Linked DNA regions of Homo sapiens: region 2 is linked to region 1. The links are contacts of gene promoters, found by promoter capture Hi-C in human tissues and cell types (Jung and others, 2019). All regions are on one chromosome and are shown on one strand. Each heading gives the region's core, a stretch centred on a gene start or on the middle of the fragment in contact. The rest is flanking DNA. Distances are from core to core; before and after follow the strand shown. Region 1 holds the start of FMO4 (flavin containing dimethylaniline monoxygenase 4). Region 2 overlaps FMO1-AS1 (FMO1 antisense RNA 1).

Region 1 (7,066 bases), core at 3,338-5,837:
AAGGATTTCACTGTCTGGACTTCTCATGATGTAAATGGCATACTAGGTGCCAAAGGAAATTCATGGCTATCAGACAAACGCCTGCTTAGATACCAGGCACTACTCCTTGAGGGACCAGTGCTTCAAATACACACGTGTGTGGCCCTCAACCCTGCTATTTTTCTCCCAGAGGATGGAGAGCCAATCAAGCATGACTACCAACAAATTGTAGCCCAGACTTATGTCACCTGAGAGGATCTCTTAGAAGTCCCCTTAGCTAATCCTGACCTTAACCTATATACCAATGGAAGTTCATTTGTGGAGAATGGGATACGAAGGGCAGGTTATGCCATAGTTAATGATGTAACAGTACTTGAAAGTAAGCATCTTCCTCCAGGGACCAGCACTGTTAGCAGAACTAGTGGCACTTACCCAAGCCTTAGAACTGGGAAAGGGAAAAAGAATAAATGTGTATACAAATAGCAAATATGCTTATCTAATCCTACATGCCCATGCTGCAATGTGGGAAGAAAGGGAGTTCATAACCTCTGGGTGAACCCCCATTAAATACCACAAGGAAATCATTAAGTTATTGCATGTGGTGCAAAAACCTAAGGAGATGGCAGTCTTACACTGCCAAAGCCATCAAAAAGGTGAAGGAGAAAAGGCAGAAGGAAACTGTCGGGCAGATGCTGAGGCCAAAATTGCTGCCAGGTGGAACCTACCATTAGAAATACCTGTAGAAGGGCCACTGGTATGGAACAACCCTCTCCAAGAGATTAAGCCCCAGTATTTCCCAACTTAAACAGAATGGGGACTTTCACGGGGGCATAGTTTTCTCCCCTCAGGGTGGTTCACTACGGAAGAGGGAAAGGTACTCATACCTGAAGCCAGACAGTGGAAAATACTTAAGACCCTCCACCAAACTTTTCATATGGGTATTGAGAACACTCATCAAATGGCTAAATCTCTATTTACGGGTCCAAATCTCCTCTGGACCATCCAACAAGTAGTCAAAGCCTGTGAGGTGTGCCAAAGGAATAATCCCTTGGTCCATCATAAGGCCCCTCTGGGGGAACAAAGAATAGGGCACAATCCCAGAGAGGACTGGCAGTTAGACTTCACCCATATGCCTAAGTCTAAGGGATTTCAACACTTGTTGGTCTGTGTTGAAACCTTTACAAATTGGATAGAAGCCTTCCCCTGCAAGACAGAGAAGGCTCAGGAAGTGGTTAAAGTCCTAATGCATGAAATAATTCCTAGATTTGGGCTTCCCCAAAGCTTACAAAGTGACAATGGTCTGGCTTTTAAAGCCACGGTAACAGGGAATTTCCAGGGTGCTAGGGATATCATATTACCTCCACTGCGCCTGGAGGCCACAATCCTTAGGGAAGGTTGAGAAGGCAAATCCCTATAACCATGAATACCATCTTAACTTTCCAAGCCCCTCTATGCATCCAACACAACCCGTTATCAGGCCTGCCCCTGGGGGACCTATTATCCCATCAGTGTAATTACATCCTACAACTTCAAGCCCGAACTGATTATAGTAACTTCCGAGTCACCCAAACAGCTCCACTCAGATGGCTTGTCCACTTCTCAGAGCCTCCAAAAATCATCACCTCCTCCCTGCTTAACAAACAGTCTGGGTTTTTTAATAGCAAACATACTCCCTGCATGACCATTCACCCCTGGACCCCCTGCAGCAGTGCCCCCACCACTAGTGAATGCCTCCTCATCCCCTCTTTCAATTAATCTATTGAATGGTTCCTAGTAGATACAAAACGGCTTTTTCCCCCAATGGGAAGATAGAGCACAGGGAGCCACTCAGTTTGCTCCCAACACCCCTTTCCAGCCACTCACCGGAGCCACCTTGGCACGTACTCTAGGAGTATGGGAAAATGAAAACAACAAACTCACACACCTTTTTAACGTACACAACCAGTTCTGTCTACCCAGCCAAGACGTATTCTTCTTACATGGAATGTCAACCTATATCTGCCTCCCCACCAACTGGACAGGCACCTGCACCTTAGTCTTCCTAAGTCCCAATATAAACATTGCCCAGACCCTATCAGTGCTCCTCAAAGCACAAGTCCATCAGCACAGGGCCATACAACTAATACCCCTACTTATAGGGTTAGGAATGGCCACTGCTACAGGAACCGGAATAGCAGATTTATCCACTTCATTATCCTACTACCACACACTCTCAAAGCATTTCTCAGGCAGTTTGCAAGAAAGAACAAAATCTATCCTTACTCTACAATCCCAAATAGACTCTTTGGCAGCAGTGACTCTCTAAAACCACTGAGGCCTAACCTCCTCACTGCTGAGAAAGGAGGACTTTGCACCTTCTTAGGGGACGAGTGTTGCTTTTACACTAACCAGTCAGGGTTAATATGAGACGCCACCCGGCATTTACAGGAAAAGTCTTCTGAAATCAGACAATGCCTTTCAAATTCTTATACCATTCTCTGGAGTTGGGCAACATGGCTTCTCCCCTTTCTAGGTCTCATGACAACCATCTTGCTATTACTTGCCTTCGGGCCCTGTATTTTTAAGCTCTTTGTCAATTTGTTTCCTCCAGGATCGAGGCCATCAAGCTACAGATGGTTTTGCAAATTAAACCCCAAATGAGCTCAACTAACAACTTCTACCAAGGACCCCCTGGATCGACCCACTGGCCCTTTGATACCTAGAGAGTTTCCCTCTGGAGGATACTACAATTCAGGGTCTCTTCTTCACCCCTATCCAGCAGGAAGTAGCTAGAGCAGTCATTGCGCAATTCTCAAAAGCAGTTGGGGTGTCCTGTTTAAAGGGGGTATTGAGAGGTGAAGCCAGCTGGACTTCCTGGGTCGAGTAGAGACTTGGAGAACTTTTCTGTCTTACAAGAGGATTGTAAAATGCACCAATCAGTGCTCTGTAGCTAGCAAGAAGTTTGTAAAATGCACCAATCAGTTCTCTGTAAAATGGACCAATCAGTGCTCTGTAAAATGGACCAATCAGCGCTCTGTAAAATGGATCAATCAGCAGGATTCTAAAAGTAACCAATCGTGGGGAGAATTGAGAAAAGGGCATTCTGATAAGACAGAAACAGGACATGGGAGGGGACAAATAAGAGAAAGCTGGCCACCCCAGCCAGCGGCAGCAACTGGCTCGGGTCCCCTTCCACTCTGTGGAAGCTTTGTTCTTTCGCTCTTCACAATAAATCTTGCTGCTGCTCACTCTTTGGGTCTGTGCCATCTTTTAAGAACTGTAACACTCACCACAAAGGTCCGCAGCTCCATTCTTGAAGTCAGGGAGACCAGGAACCCACCGGAAGGAACTAACTCTGGACACAATATTTTTTTTTCTTTTTTTAAATTTTTTTCTTTATTTCTTCTAAAAAAAAGTGGGATGCATGTGCAGAACGTGCAGGTTTGTTGCATAGGTACACGTGTGCCATGGTGATTTGCTGCACCTATTGACCTGTTCTCCTCTAAGTTCCCTCTCCTCACCCCCTACCCTACAACAGGCCCTACAACATTCCCCTCTCTGTGTCCATGTGTTCTCATTGTTCAACTCCCACTTATGAGTGAGAACATGCAGTGTTTGGTTTTCTGTTCCTGTGTTAGTTTGCTGAGGATGATGGCTTCCAGCTTCATCCATGTCCCTGCAAAGGACATGATCTTATTTCTTTTTATGGCTGCATAATATTCCATGATATTTTTCAAAAGAAAATATTTGCTGCCAACAGAAGATTTTATATTAAAATCTGTATTTGCAGCTTTTACTGAAAAGAACCTAAGGCCTTGCCATATTGGGCTCATTTTCTCAAATAGCAACATTTAGCTGAACTGAATAGACAGAGAAAGTACTTTCCAGTCAGATCATATCTGGCCCACTTTCCTCGTGTATGTTACCCTCCTCACTCCTGTAGGCATTTGCATGTGTAGTCACAAGCAAATGTGGTTTAGAAATTGTTCAGTGAACCATGTTGGAAAATGTCCCTAAACACAAGTCCTAAAGATGGTCTGTTATATTATCTTACAAGCACACAGTGGAAGGAAAAACAGTTAAGTTTTCTATTTCTGCCACAGCTTCTATAATTATTACCTTTCTTGTGCCCTAGGTTAATATCTAAAAATAGCTTTATGCTTTCTCAAACACATTTCACCAGCTCCCTCTGCTGATCCAATCTGAAGGACAAAACAGCTTAAATTCCTTGTAAGTCCTGAACTTTAAAATCACATTTCTGGGGTTGGAGAACTCCAAGCATGAAAGAACTTGATGAGGTAATGGTCATCTAAATAACTTTCTCCTTTGGACAGCTCCTATGGTAATCCAAGCAAGAGTCAGGGTGTAGAAGTTTGTTTCCAAAAGTAGAACTCCTGTTTCGCTGAGAAAGCTGTAATTTGGGGTGATTTGGCGCCCTCTACAGACTATAATGGCAAAAGCGACGCTATCATGTGCTTCCCATAGCTTTAGGGCTTTGCCAGAACTATGACGTTGAGGAGGGTGGGGTAAAGGGGCAGGAAGCGTTTATGTTCTGCCAATCCAACAGCTGTATTCTAACTCACCATTCCGCCCTCCCTTAAGATCACGGAAGTATCACGCTTGCCTCTTACACAACTTTTTTTCCTTAGTCTGTATACTTTCTGCTGTCACTAGCATAACAGAAAAGACGAATGGCTTTTGTTTTAAACTGAGGGCACTTTTACAAAAGTCATCTTTCCATTTATTTTTCTTTCAGAAAAAAGAATTTGGGTTTTGAGCTTTTTTAAAAAAAAAAGACAAACACTTTCCTTGACTTTGAGAAATAATTTAAGTCAAAGAATCTGCTCTATGCTAACCAAGGTAAGTGTCCTGGATTTTTTTTTTAATGGGGAAATGATCCAGAAACTGCTTTCACAAAAGATGAATGTTTTTCTTGGAGTGTGTTCCTTAAGAATGAATGTGATTATCTTCTTTTGGGGTCTCTTGACTAGGGCTAAAGCAAGAGAATTAAGGAGAGAGTCAGGAAGCAAAGGGAAGTTGTAAGGAAACAAAGTTATGTTGTGGACAGAACCATCCAAAAGGAAAGTGTCAGTGAGATAAACAGAATCATGAGACTTTCAGTGACTCCAGTGACCTCTGATTTCATCTTATGAATGAGATGGAAATGCCAGCCATTGGGAAACAAATACCCCATAGATGGCGTGGGAAAAAAATACTGTAACAAAGCAAGAGCATGGTAGGATGATGATAAGAAACATAAAATGATCAAATTTCAAATTCAAAGAAATCATAATTGATTACATGATTTGCAAATCACCCAAGTCTCTCCATGTCTCATAAAGGATTCCTACATTTGCTGGTCAGTCAGGTATAGGGTGGGGTTTTCCCGTTGTACAAAGGTCTAGTTCAATAGGTCAGGTCTCCTTTCTGCCAAGGGACTAAATATAAGCAACCTATGGCTGGCACGGTGGCTCACGCCTGTAATCCCAGCACTTTGGAAAGCCGAGGAGGGCAGACCACTTGAGATCAGGAGTTTGAGACCAGCCTGACCAACATGGTGAAACCCCGTCTCTACTAAAAATACAAAAATTATCCAGGCGTGGTGCCGCCTGCCTGTAGTCTCAGCTACTCAGGAGGCTGAGGCAGGAGAATCACTTGAACCCAGGAGGTGGAGGTTGCAGTGAGCCGAAATTGTGCCACTGCATTCCAGCCTGGAAGACAGAGTGAGACTCCAACTCAAATAAATAAATAAATAAATATAAGCACCTTTGAGCAACCAAGTACCTTATGAAGTCCACTTTATAGTTTGCAGAGTTTGCACACACGTTCTCCCAATCCTTCAAGCCTGCAGTATTCTCGCCTACCTTTGAATTCATATCTTTTTTTTTTTGTGCACCAATTACTTGGTTTTCAGACATAAGAACAGTCCTTTCAAGCTTGAAGGAAACAAAGAGAAAGCCACTTGAACCCTCTGTTTTACAAATGTGGAAGCACTGGCTCAGAGAAATTGAGAATTGTGTCCAGGGTTACAAGCTGCTTAGAGGCAGAAGCAGAACTAGAACTCAGATCTCTCAATTTCCAGTTCACTCACTACCTTCCTCTACTGACTCAAGGCAAAATTTAAAAAGGTTGCTCCCATTCAGAAATTTATAGTCTGTAAATACGGATTAATTTTAAAAGGTGCTAATTCCCAATTTGTTTCTACTGCCTGTAGAGTCTCTAAGTCAGTCCTTAAAGTGCTTTTGCCCAGCACGTTTTTAACCCCACAGGCCACTCTGTGTCACTAACTAGGTCTCTAGACAGGGATAATAAACAGGCCAGGAGAGTGCAAGCATTCATGCCTAGAGCATGCTGCTACCATAGGACTTAGCACAAGGTAGTATCAGCCTCTCCATATACAACATCTTAAGAGCAGTCACGGTCTTTTTTAAATTCTAAGACTTTACTACTATTTCTTAGTTGCAGGGTCTTCATTATCTTCAGGGCCCCATACTTAGCTTAGGACCTGCACTTAGAGGTACCCAGGGCATATTTGTTGAATGAATTAATTTGCTTCCAGTCTATTCACGTCAGTATATTTTTCACTTTGGCAATTCAGTTAGCAGTCATTTCTTTTTACCTTATGATTGCAGAGATAGAGCACAGCAAAGATCTGCCAGCCCCAGGCCTCTACCTAGTGGCCTGGAAATTCAAGTATTCTTATTGGTGGAGGCCATTTGTTTCTGATTAGAAGCTGTCTAAACCTCCTACTCCTCAACTCAAAGGAAAACACAGGTATGTCTGCCTACTCCTTTCCAAACTTGTTGATACATTTTATCTGTATGAACTGTCTTTTCCAAGGAGAAGAGAAGGAAGACAGGAGACAAGTAGGGAGGTAGAGAATGAACACTGAGTAAATATTTTGTGCAAGGCACTTTTTTGTGTAAGTAATATCAAGTTTTTTAAAATGCAAACAATCCTTCAACATAGATATTTTTATTATTTTACAAATAATATATCTAAGGTTGCTTCAGTCGGTTGCTCAGGGTCATATGGCTAGTTGGTAGCAGAGAAAGTTCAAACCCAACTCTGCTGCCTCCAAAATCCATTTTCATTGCATTCCATATAG
Region 2 (7,066 bases), core at 2,594-5,093, 150 kb before region 1:
TAAAAGCAGGATGAATATTCTAACTCAATTTGTCTAATTGGAGAGATGGATAAGTCATAGTAGAAAAAGTTCAGACTTGAAAAGAAAAATGTATACCAAACTATCTCAATTTGTTTTTAGAATATGTATAATTTATCCTAGTAATCAAAATTGGTTCAAACCAGATGTGTCTCCAAAGTATTCTTGTGTACATGTGTATGTGTACACACATGCTAGTGTTGTGTTGTGTTTAGTATGATGCTAGATTGTGTAACAGAAAGAGTCTGTAAGAATTATAAGCTGATTTTCCAAATATCCTATGCACATATTTCTGAGTCCTCTGTTCAATCTGGGGACTACCAATGAAGACTAATCTGGAATCTTGGAGAGAGACACTTGGGAAGAACAAGAAAAATAATATTTTGAGTGGGGGTCTCTTTTCTGGAACATGTTTCAGGGTGTGAGAATCTCATTCCCTCCTCAGACCTAGTACTAGAGGGATGTTCTCCTCAACAAAGACTGTAGTGAAAGTTGGCTAAATGGACTGCTGAGCCCTTCAGACTTAGTTTATTTGAGCCAACTAGAAACTTTTTTGTAATTCAGACTTCTTGATATTTTATTCAATCATATGGATAATATTAATTTGCACTAAATTAAACTTGATGGAATGTTGCTTATAACCTCTGTGTATTTGGTCCTGTGTAGTAAGTAGACATAAGTGTGGTCCTTCCCATCATCTTTACCAACCATGCAAAATAAAGTGAGAACAAAGAGCCGTTAAGGAGTGACAAAAGGCGAGGGAGCATGCTAACTCAAAGCTAACTCATGCACCTCATTCTACTGATTGGGTAGCCTGCTCATCTGTGAAATCTATGTTTGTGTGTATATACAATCTGTAATTGAATCTAGTGTAAGGACTATACCAGACAAATTCATTAATAAACTAACTAAATAAAACCCTTTTACCAGTTGATTCCCAAAGACAATCAGCTTTTCAGTCAGATTAATAGCAAATCTCACAGTTAAGAAACTACTATGTTTTGCATCATCAGACACAGAAGAAACCATATTTTTAATGTTTTACTTTGCCTCTAAAATCCTAGCATAAATTAGCATATTTTTAAAAAAGGGTTAAGAGTAGTAGTTTATGCCTGGAATCCCAGCATTTTAGGAGGCCCAGGCACAAAGATTGCTTAAGCACAGGAGTTTGAGACCAGCCTAAGCAACATAGCAAAACCTTGTCCTACAAAAAAATTAAAATTAAAAAATTAGCCAGGTGCTATGACTCAGATGTGTGTCCCCTCCAAATCTCATGTTGAAATGTGATCCCCAGTGTTGGAAGTGGGGCCTTGTGGGAAGTGATTCTCTCATAAATGGCTTGGTGCCCTCCCCAGGGTAATGAGTGAGTTCTCACTCTATTAGTTCACGAGAGCTATTATAGTTGTTTAAAAGAGACTGGCACCTCCTCTCCTCTCTCTTGCTTCAATTCTCGTGCTCCCTTTCACACCATGTGACATGCCTGCTCCCCCTTCACCTTCTGCCATGATTGCAAGCATCTTGAGGCCTCACCAGAAGCAGATGTCGGCACCATGCTTCTTGTACTGTCTGCAGAATGATGAACCAAAATAAACCTCTTTTCTTTATAAATTACCCAGTCTCAGGTATTTCTTTATAGCAACACAAAATGTGTAACTGGCAAAAGGGTCCTGCTGCTTGCCACTTTTAGAAAGATGCCAACATAACAAGAGCGAGATGTGACAGAGAAAGAGTGAGTTTTATCATCTGTGTTAGCAAGGAAAAGAGTGGGCAGAATTCTTTCCCAAAATTTCCACTCTTCAATTTGTGGGAGGAACACAGGGTTTTTTTTTTAAGAGACAGGGGTTTGGAATGCAGGAGAGGAAAAGGGCAGCTACACAGATCAAAAGGCAGGCCCTTAGACATGGCACCTTGCTCTGTATATACCAGTCTCTTTAAGGATATAAACCACAATCTGGTTTATACATTATGTTGATGATTATAATACATTGATAATTAACAACTGTATATCTGGATGCAGTGTCATAATATGGCTTTTTAGTAAAAAGTACTTGAAGGTAAAATGAATAATTAGATTAAAAAATGAAGCCACAAGGAAATGATAGCTGAAATTTAAGCCACAAGGAAATGATAGCTGAAATTTCTATGCATATCTTTAAAATTTACATCTTACATTGAACTGCAGTGATCTAGGTGCCTTCAACTGCCCTGTCCTTAGATTTAATAAGGTGTAGATAGCTTCACAGATTACCTTTTCTTATAATAAAAGAAGTATAACCAGAGCCTTTATGACTACATTTGTTAATTTCTCCTCTCTGAAATAAGACAATGTAATCTTCAGGTATTTGGTTTACTAATATATCACAGATTCATCACCACCCCACCCAACTAATCATCAAATGAGTTTCGCAGCTAAGAACTGACTCATATTCTATACCTGCCTTCTTAATGTATTAAGAAAATCCTTAAGCTCCATTAGGCTTTGGCCAATATGAGACATCCAAATCCAGATACTTTTGAGACTAGACTGAAAAAATAAGTGAGTAAAGCAGATAGATTGCATATTAATCATTCTGTTGGCACATTAAACAAAGAGAAATCATCCTTTACTTCCGCAAAAATATTTGCAGGCCCAGGACAACCAGATTTTCTAAACTTTTTAGAGAAGCCTTGTATTGATATTTCCATCTGTTATTTTCTGGATTTTTAATGTTTAGCAACAACTTTTAAAAAAAGATTTGTAGGTCTTAGATGGGCTGGAGAAAACTCAGTAAGGGCAGATTTCAGCCGAAGAACCTCCACTTCTCCTTACCTTCTCTGGAAACAATATGTATTGCCATCTTCCAGCCACCATTCTCAGGGTTCAGAGGGAGTTTAAAGATCTCCTAATTTAACCCTTGGTTGATACTTGTGTTCTTTCTACAATATCCAGCCTCCTCTTTAACACCTCTTTGGACACAAAATTCATTCATTACCCTCTGGAGCAGCCTTCAGATAACTGACTGCCTCTGGCATTTACCCAGTACAGCCACCATTCATTCACAGTGGCGAACACCAGCCCTGTGAGATAGAAAGAGGTTCAAATGGGGGAGTCACAGCTACCTGCTCAAAAACTCAAAGCAAAACACTGAACTGATTCCAAACAGGAGTCTTCATAACTTATTAGAATATTTAAAAAGGAATAATTATTTGTAGGAATCTGTTATATGGATATTTTTGCATTAAAGCACAAAGATGGATGAACAAGGAAAATCATTGCAGTCTCGTTTATAATCATGAAAACCTGGAAACAATTCAAATATCTATAATAGTATAAAATAACATACAGTAAAATATAGGAGATCAACGTATATATACTGACATGGAACTCTTTTCAAAATATATTGTTTAATGAAAAAAGCAAGTAACAAAGTAAACAATATTTCTTCATTTATGTAAAGTCTAGTATCTGTGTATATAAATGTTATTTTTACACAGAAGGAAATGTCTGAAAGCCAATTGTCATCAGTAGTTTTCTCTGAAGATTAGACTGGGGCTGGAAATGGGAGGAAGGAGTAGGAACCGCACTTTTGTTTCTACATACTTTCGCATTGTTTGAGTTTTTTCATTGAAGACATTTTCATACATGACTAGTTTTATATGTAAGAAAATAATTTTTTAAATAGGTACCATTTAGTCTAGAAAGCACCTACAAGATGCCTGATTGGTGAACCTTGTGAAGACAAGAGAAAAATGAAAGATTTTGTGTATGAATTTTAGTCTCAACTGCAAAATATTTTTCTGCTTTCTCAATGACACTACTTGGTCCTGTGTGTCATGTTACCACTCCCTGTGTTCAGATGACTGTGTTTGTGCATTATATAACAATATTAATTGTGCTATTGCCAGAGAGGGCTGTGACTAATGAGGTATATACTAATTAGAATGCACTTTACCAGAATACACAGTTGTGGATAAGCCAACAAAAGGTTGAGCGCAGGTTGTGAACTTCTCCTTACCTTTCCTGAAAACAACATGAATTGTCATCTTCCAGTCACCATTCTCAAAGTTCAAAGGGAGTTCAAAGATCTCAGCCGCTTTGCCCTGTACATGAGAAAGGGAAGAATAATGGAATCGCAAAAGTCCCCAGGTAATGCATGTAATTTTTTCATAATGCATCACCCAGATCAATGCTGAGATCTGGAAAGAGAGGACCATAGGTTGTGATAATGTCCTGCCACTTCCCCATCTATCCTCAACTCTGCTGCAAGTCTGGCCATAGCACGCCCTGCTCAAAATCCTTCAAAGGCTTCTCATCACCTTTTGGATAATGCCCAAGCTCAAGAGCAAATGAGGCCCTCTACCATCTGGCTCTACTCTTTCTCATTTTTACCTCTTCCTTGCTCCCTCTTAATACTCTGGTAGTATTGGACTGGTGATATTTCCTAAACTCATACCATAATGATCCTCACCTCTTTGCTCCAATTCCTGCTGTTCCCCTGGTCACAGATACCTTCCATCACCCCACACACATCTCTACCACCATAGCCTTGGGCAACTCCTGCTCTTTGTTATTTATCTTTATTCTTTCTGCACAGTGGCTTTTCCTGGGGACCATTGTCTTCATTCCTCTTTGCCCATACCTATCCTTACATATACATGTTGAAATGATTACTACAGTCAAGGCAATTAATATATCCATCATCTCACCCTTCCCTAATTGGTGTGTGTGTGTATGGTAAGAGCACCAAAAATCTACTCTCTTAGCAAATTTCTAGTATACAATACAATGATATCCGCAAGAGGCAGGCAAATGCCTAGGCAGACAGGGGCAGGTCCCTGGTGAAACCCCACCTTCAAGCCAAAGACAGTTTAAAGCCTGAAAGCCAAGCTACAAGTCAAATCCACAGACTGGATTGAGAACCTCTCTTCCCATTTGGTGCACTTTCCTCTGAATGATCCCTACCCTTCACCTATTTTATATATACCTACCCTTCCCTAATTGGTTTTTTACACTGCCATGCCCACTGAGTTGTGCCTTTGTTTTAACCTTTTCTGCGTACTCACAAACCAATCACCACTCCCCCATTCTGAGCCCATAAAAGCCCCGGACCCAGCCACACTGAAGGGGAGACCACCCAACTTCATGTGGTGGATCACCCTCATGGCCCCTCTTTGCTGAGAGCTGTTCTGTCACTTAATAAAGCTCTTCTCTGCCCTTCTCACCCTTCAATTGTCAGTGTAACCTCACTTCTCTTGGATTCAGGACAAGAACACAAGAATTGCTGAACATAGGTATGAGCTGTAACACAGGTGGGCTGGGGCACTCCTGGGCCAGTCATGGGGTGAGCTAGTGTGCAAATGGGCAGAGTACCTCCTGCAGCAGGCCTGGGGCTGAGCAAGGCCCAGTTTGGGGCATCGCCAGCCAGACACTTCCAGCTGGCAAAAGTGACAGAATAATCCTGTATCAGCAACACTATTAACTATAGTCCACATGCTGCATATCAGACCTCTAGATTTATTCATCTGACAAAACTGCAACTTTGTTTCTTTTTATCTACATCTCCTGATCTCCCCCTACCTCTGGTAACCACCTTTCTACTCTGTTTATGTGTATTCAGCATTTTTAAGATGCTGCATATAAGAAAGATGTGGAATACTTTTTTTTTCCTGTGGCTTATTTCACTTAGCGTAATGTCCTCTAGGATCATCATGTTGCAAATGGCAGGATCTCCTTCCTTTCTAAGGCTGAATAATATTCGTGTGTGTGTGTGTGTGTGTGTGTGTGTGTGTGTGTGTGTGTGTGTGTGTAGAAACCAGCCCTTTCAAAAGATTCCATGCCTGATTTCAACCAACTGCCTGACTGATAAGAGATCACTGATGACCACGGAGTGGTTCTGGCCAGTCTGCAGAGAATGCACAGTGAGGATTTTGTGTCCTCTGCTTCACCTTTTGACATCAGAGGGCCAAAAACACCACCCTTGGGTCATGCTAATCCTGCCATTTTTTGAACATGGGTCCCGTGAAGGAAGATGAAGCTCAGATGTGCACATAAATGTTTCTCATTTCATAAATACTCATGATTCCTCCTATAGCATATTGAATTTGCATATTTAGCCACCCTGCTCAACATAAATTCATGTTCCCTTTGCCCCACCTCCACACCCCTCCCCCCCAAAAGTGCCTGCTTCCAGCTTCTGGCCAGAGGCCATGCTTCCCAGCTCATCAGAAGGGCCACCCTTCAGGCTATAATCATTTATGAGAAATAAAGCTCTCCTTCACAAATTTATGAACCTTGTCATTCTTCAACTGACACTAGTATATCATGATCCACCAAGCTTAAAATCTTACAAATAACCTTTATTGTCTCTGTCTCCTTAGCTATTTGTAGTTATTAGGTCACCAAGATCTGAAAATAGACACATCTATGGGAATAGAAGAGGCAAGGTCAAACCACAAGATATCTATAGTCTTCCTGAATTCATCCCTATGTGAGCATGTACGCACACGCACTCGTGGACATGCACATGAACGTACACACACACTCAGATTTGAACATGAAATACATTGGGCTTAAAGTAAATAAGTTACTCCTGTTGACAACCTGTTCTTGTTCCCACTTTAAAGTAAGACTCGGCTATTCCCTAAAAGTACATCCAATTCTATGAAATTTTAGCAAATCATTCCAATTTTTCTATAGGAAGACAAAAGAATACACCTGACAACAAAAACATTAATAAAAAATCCTCATTAGATCTCTGTTTCCTCTCAAGGTTCTTCTCAGATGACTTGTCACCCCCACCCTTTTATCAACCCTTCCTCCCCAGAGCTTCTCCATCCTTGATTCCAAACTAACTGCCTATTCAGAGCAAAGTCAAAGAATTATTTTATGGCCTATTTCAGGGAAGAAAGACAGCAAGAAAGTCAAGGAGTACTTTCTGCTTGTGCTGTTTTCTCAAATGCCAAGCTGTCATATTTTGAAACAATGTATCCTCAATCCCATCACCACCAAGCTTCCACTGTTTTCTCATTAGAACAATTCAGTTATCTCTGGCTTTTCCAACTCAGTACC

The links. Contacts are between HindIII fragments. The study calls those that stand out against the background at their distance.
Region 2: a contact is called between a fragment that was not itself captured here and the fragment with the promoter of FMO4 in region 1, in 1 of the 25 tissues and cell types used here (H1 embryonic stem cells).

What each region holds. Positions count from the first base shown.
Region 1 is chr1:171,309,596-171,316,661 of GRCh38, forward strand. FMO4 (flavin containing dimethylaniline monoxygenase 4) reads left to right here and starts at 4,588. Exons shown (of 10, transcript NM_002022.3): 1 at 4,588-4,818; 2 at 6,591-6,732. The HindIII fragment of the contact is 8,197 bases long and covers 2,213-7,066 here.
Region 2 is chr1:171,164,091-171,171,156 of GRCh38, forward strand. FMO1-AS1 (FMO1 antisense RNA 1) reads right to left here. Exons shown (of 5, transcript XR_922278.4): 3 at 4,014-4,098. Among named protein-coding and RNA genes, the nearest start is that of FMO2, 18 kb to the right of the region's middle. The HindIII fragment of the contact is 5,651 bases long and covers 1,019-6,669 here.